Regions from separate parts of the Homo sapiens genome. Here region 1 is linked to region 2. The links are contacts of gene promoters, found by promoter capture Hi-C in blood cells and fetal thymus (Javierre and others, 2016). All regions are on one chromosome and are shown on one strand. Each heading gives the region's core, a stretch centred on a gene start or on the middle of the fragment in contact. The rest is flanking DNA. Distances are from core to core; before and after follow the strand shown. Region 1 overlaps COX5A (cytochrome c oxidase subunit 5A). Region 2 holds the start of CPLX3 (complexin 3).

What was found. Contacts are between HindIII fragments. The CHiCAGO score rates a contact against its expected background, and 5 or more counts as called.
Region 1: a fragment that was not itself captured here is called in contact with the fragment with the promoter of CPLX3 in region 2 in 1 of 17 cell types (megakaryocytes); the score reaches 5.6 in megakaryocytes.

Annotation. Positions count from the first base shown.
Region 1 is chr15:74,931,950-74,934,649 of GRCh38, reverse strand. All of the region lies in intron 1 of COX5A (cytochrome c oxidase subunit 5A), which reads left to right. Among named protein-coding and RNA genes, the nearest start is that of COX5A, 4.8 kb to the left of the region's middle. The HindIII fragment of the contact is 3,088 bases long and covers 1-2,700 here.
Region 2 is chr15:74,825,377-74,828,076 of GRCh38, reverse strand. CPLX3 (complexin 3) reads right to left here and starts at 1,450. Exons shown (of 3, transcript NM_001030005.3): 1 at 1,210-1,450; 2 at 1-43. The coding sequence starts at 1,373. LMAN1L (lectin, mannose binding 1 like) reads right to left here. Exons shown (of 14, transcript NM_021819.3): 14 at 2,323-2,601. The coding sequence ends at 2,472. RefSeq lists a silencer at 1,261-1,468. The HindIII fragment of the contact is 16,039 bases long and covers 1-2,700 here.

The DNA.
Region 1 (2,700 bases), core at 147-2,646, 110 kb before region 2:
ACAATATAATTTAAATCATGGCCGGGCATGGTGGCTCACGCCTGTAATCCCAGCACTTTGGTAGGCTGAGGCGGGCGGATCACAATGTCAGGAGATCGAGACCATCCTGGCTAACGCGGTGAAACCCCGTCTCTACTAAAAATACAAAAAAATTAGCCGGGCGTGGTGGCGAGTGCCTGTAGTCCCAGCTGCTGGGAAGGCTGAGATAGGAGAATGGCGTGAACCTGGGAGGCGGAGCTTGCAGTGAGCTGAGATTGCGCCACTGCACTCCCGCCTGGGCGACAGAGTGAGACTCCATCTCAAAAAAAAAAAAAAAATTTAAATCACGTGGGGAGAGTCTGTTTTAGCCCTTCAGAAAGGGATGTATGGGTTTTTAAATTTTTATTTATTTTAATTTGTTTGATATAGAGTGTTGCTCTATCACCTAGGCTAGAGTGCAGTGGCGCAGTCATAGCTCACTGCAGCCTTGTTGCCCTGGGCTCAAGGGATCCTCCCGCCTCAGCCTCCTGAGTAGCTGGGACCACCAAACCCCGCTAATTTTTTAAGTTTTTTGTGGAGAATGGAGGTCTGTCTTTGTTGCCCAAGCTGGTCTCTCAGTCCTGGCATCAAGCGATCCTGCCTTGGCCTCTCAAAGTTCTAGTTCTGTTTTATAAAAGACTTTTTGGAATACAACCAGTTTGTAATTTGGCTTCCAGAAGACATATGATCAAATCCTTGAAGGTGGTGATCTCCTTGACTTGGATTTGCTGTTGGTGGTCATCTTATTCACAGTTAGGAAACAAAGCCTAGCACTCATGTAGTCAAATCCATGCCCAGCAGTGAACAAAACGAATTGCTTATCATGAAGCACTGTTGTGGATGGGACAGGTAATTACCTCTGGGGAAGGAGTACATAGACCTTTCATTGGGTAAATACTTAGGAGTGGAATTACTGTGTTATATGGTAGGTTTGTGTTTAACTTGATAAGAAACTGCTTAAACCGTCTTCCAAAGTGATTGTATCATTTTATACTTGCACTTTCAGTATTCAGTTAAGGCTAGCTTTAGTTTTTGAAGAGGTGGCTTATAATTTTTTCTTTTTTGAGACAGGGTCTCACTCTGTCTCCGAGGCTAGTGCCACTGCATCTGGCCCTAAGTTCTTGATAATAGTGCATTAGATGGTTGTTCTAATCTATGTTTTTACATAGATAGATAGATAGATAGATAGATAGATAGATAGATAGATAGATATTTTTTTTTTTGAGACGGAGTCTTGCTCTGTCGCCCAGGCTGGAATGCAGTGGCACGATCTTGGCTCACTGCAACCTCCCTGGGTTCAAGCTATTCTCCTCCTTCAGCATTCCAAGTAGCTGGGACTACAGGGGTGTGCCACCACGCCTGGCTAATTTTTTGTATTTTAGTAGAGACAGGGTTTCACCATGTTGGCCAGGCTGGTCTTGAACTCCTGGCCTCAAGTGATCTGCCTGCCTCAGCCTCCCAAAGTGCTGGGATTACAGGTGTGAGCCACCGCACCTGGCCTTGTTTTCTGATATATTAAATTTGAATATTAGTCTTGTAAGACTTATTAAATATCCACGTAGTTTTGATTAAATGTTCATACTTACCAGACATATTTAGGTGTAGAGATCCATTTTTTTCTTGTTGTAGAAATTAAGGCTGGGCACCGTGGCTCATGCCTGTTATCCCAGCACTTTGGGAGGCCGAGGCAGGCAGATCATGAGGTCAAGAGTTCGAGACCAGCCTGACTAACATGGTGAAACTTTGTGTCTACTAAAGATACAAAAAATTAGCCTGACATGGTGGCGCATGCCTGTAATCCCAGCTACTTGGGAGGCTAAGGCAGGAGAATCACTTGAACCCGGGAGGTGGAGGTTGCAGTGAGCCGAAATCGTGCCATTGCACTCCAGCCTGGGCGACAGGGTGAGACTCTGTCTCAAAAAAAAAAAAAAAGAAATTAAAACGTGTTCACTTCTAGTCCATTTATGTACATGTTCCACTTCATTCTGGGCTTGGATTATGTAGGTAATTTAGGTCTCTGGGAAGATCTTTTCTGCTTCGTTTTTTTGCTACTCTTCCTCCTGCCAGTTACTGCATTAAAGATATATAGGATATTACTAATGTTTAAATTTCAGTGTTCTTAGAACAACAATGTTGAGAGGTTTCTGGGTGAAGTTTTTAAAAATATATATATATGTATGTTAAGGCTGGGCATGGTGGCTCACACCTGTAATTCTAGTATTTTGGGAGTGGTAGGATTGCTTGAGGCTAGGAGTTTAAGACCACCCTGGGCAACATATCAAGACCCCCATCTCTAAAAGTAAATAAATAAAAATATGTTAAGCCTTAAACAACTGGAAGTTACACCACACTTATCTAATACAGGTAGTAGGAAATGTGATTTGAGATAGGTTTCATTTCTTTAAGTTATGATTTCTATAAATAGACAACTAAGACGTTTTTAGATAAGGGTTAGTTTATAGCTACCATTTGTTTAATACTTACCAGTGCATAGTGTTAACCTACCTGTTTTCACATTTAATCTTCATAATCTGCTAAGGGGGGTAGCGTCCCCATTTTACAGATAAGGAAAATAAACTTAAGTTAATTTTCCAGGGTCAAACAGAGAGAGCGAAGAGCCTAGAGGTATCTGAGTGCTAGGTTGTGCTGCATTCAATACCCAAAGATAAAATTTTCTGCCTC
Region 2 (2,700 bases), core at 201-2,700:
CCGCTCTGCCTTCCTCTGTGTGAACTGTGCATCCCGCTCCATCCTGCAGGGTCACCGGAGGCAGAGTCACCACGAGGGCTGAGAGAAGGGGGTTGAGGTCTTCGAGGGAGGGACAGAAGGGGTCTCTGAGTCCTAGCAGCTGCTGCATTGGTCCCTGTGTGTAGCAAAAGCGCTCCAACCCGGACATCCAGGTTTCTGCTGCCTCTGCCCATCACAGTGCCCTTTGTCGTCTCTGCCACTGGATGGAACTAGGGAACCAGGGTGGCAGTCTGTCTGGCTCTCTCTGCAGATCCTAATTATTTGTCCCTCATGGCCTCCAACTTGGTCTGCTGTTCCCTCACTGACAAGCTATGTCATGTGGGGAAAAGTATTCAGGCCAAACTTGGGTTCACATCCCAGCTCCACTACCATTTTAGGTATATCCTTAGGTAAGTCACTTACCTTCCTCTTCTGTAAAATGGGGATAAAATTTTGCAACTCACAAAACTGTTATCAGGATTGAGCGAAATAATAGCTATCATTTATGAGACTTTATCATGTGCCAGGTGCTGTGCTAAACAGTTTACATGCATTGGCATTTAATCTTCATAAATATACAAGGCATGTATTATGATTACCATCCCCACTTTCCAGAAAAGGAAACAGAGGCACAGAAAGGTTAAGTAACTTGCCTAAAGTTATCCAGCTAATAGGCAAAGCCAGGCTCTGAACCCAAGTAGCCTAGCAGCAGAGTCCAGCCCCAAACTCTGTCCCAGCACTGCGGGCACACAAGTGCTCAATGTTTGTGAGTGCCCCCATCTCAGGGTCTGTCTCCGCGACTCTGAGCGGCTGCACCACTTTTTTCAGAGCCTCAAGTTCAGAGGAGCCCCAGTTGGAAGACATAGGCGGCTGGGACCAGATCGGATTAAGGGATTATCGTTTCGTCAGAAACGCACGTGCACCCCCTTCCTCGTCCCAGGCTCCGGTCGGTCCCTCGTCCGGTCGCCCCTCCCCCCACTCCCCCTTGGCCGGAGCATGATGCTGGAGCGGGGTTTTGGGTGTCAGATAGGATGGGTCTGGGGGCAGTGTAGAGGACACCTCCCGGTCTCTTACCGTGTCTAGGAAAGTAGGGGAGAAGGGATTGGGACCTGAGGCTGGCCCGGGGATGGACTGAGCAGCTGTGGGGGTGGGGAGGGGAGGTCGTTGGAGCCAGGAAGGGATCCCACTCACTTCTCTTCCACGAGTTGCTTCTGATACTCCTCGTACTCCTCCCGGCTCATGCCCTGAGCTTCGGCTGCCGACTTGTCCCCATCTCCCTTATCCTCGCCGCCTCCCAGGCTCCCAGTGAGGTTCTTCAGCTGGCCGCCCACCATGGTCTTCACCATGAACGCCATGGTCTTCGCCGGCCGGGGCACCGGGCGCCTGCTACCACGCGCCAGGCACCGGGCACGTCCGCGCCTACTTCAGCACTAGGTTTCGCGGACAGCTCCCGCCGCGGGCCCGCGCCCCACGCTTGGCACCGCCCGCCGCCCGCCCCCGCCCGGGCCCGCCCCCACCTCCCCAAACCCCTCCTCACTGGGGGCGGGGGGCAGCACGGGGCTGAGAAGGCTGGACCACGTGCCCGCTCCCCACTCCCGCCTCCCCCACGTGCCTCCTTCAACGCCGAGCTCCGCTGGGCACTGCTGACAGAGGATTAGGGCCTGCGGTGGTGGGGTCGCTCTCCCGGGAGAGGGGTTGAGCTCATACACTCCCGGAACCCTGTTCCATAGCCTCTTCCAACTTTCTCCTCTCCTGGGCCACTAATAACTAGGATTTCAGCTGGGAGATCCAGGTAGCAGCAAGGGGTAAAAACCCAGCCTTGGGTGCCCCCCATTCTCCCCACCCACCCAAGTCACTGAACCCAGCAGCTGCCCAGAGAGCTTGACGCTGGAAAAGGGAGGGAGACCTGAGGGCGCGAGCGGGAATCCCAGTTATGGTTCCACGAGTTGGCCTCTCAGGGTTGCTCTGTCACGCGCCTCCCCTGCTGCCCCTGGAGCAGCTAGGAGTGGGGAGGGAGAGAGCTGCTCAGTGATGCTGGCTGAGCTGGGCCAGGAGGGACACTGGGAGACACTGCTCTCTGTTATGGGTGAGTTTGAGGACAGAATTATATACAGTCATGGCTCTCTTTCCCTCCATAGTCGAGGGTTCAAAGCCCGTGGGGTATCCGGTCTTTTGGAGGTTAAGCCAGGCCTTGGCCTCCTTGCCTGCTTGGAGCGCACTCCCAGCCAGGTACTCAGAAGGGGTGGAAGCCTTCACAGAGATTAGGGTGAGGCTGGAAAGAAGACCAGCATATCACAGCATGGGGAGAGGGAAATCACCTTTAACGAGGTGGGAGCATGCCGAAAGCTCAGGTGTGCGTGGGAGCTGGGCACCCAGACGGAGAGGATACTGACCAAGCCCCCACCCAAGACACTGCCTGCTTCCCAGTGATGCAAAGCAGGCTCTGAGGTGGGTCAGGCAGGCATGCTGGCAGGGAGAGGCTGCCTCCTCAGAATCCCCAGGGCCCTGGGGGTGTGTGGTGCAGGACCCAGAGGAAGGCTGCCTGTGGACAGACACTCCTGAAGGCTCTTGTTCAGCTCCTGCCTGCTGCCAGAGAGAAGGTTACAGGTTACTTGCGTCTCTCCTTTATGGGCTTTTGAAAAACCAGGACTCTCATGCTTGCCTTGCTACACTCACTGCACC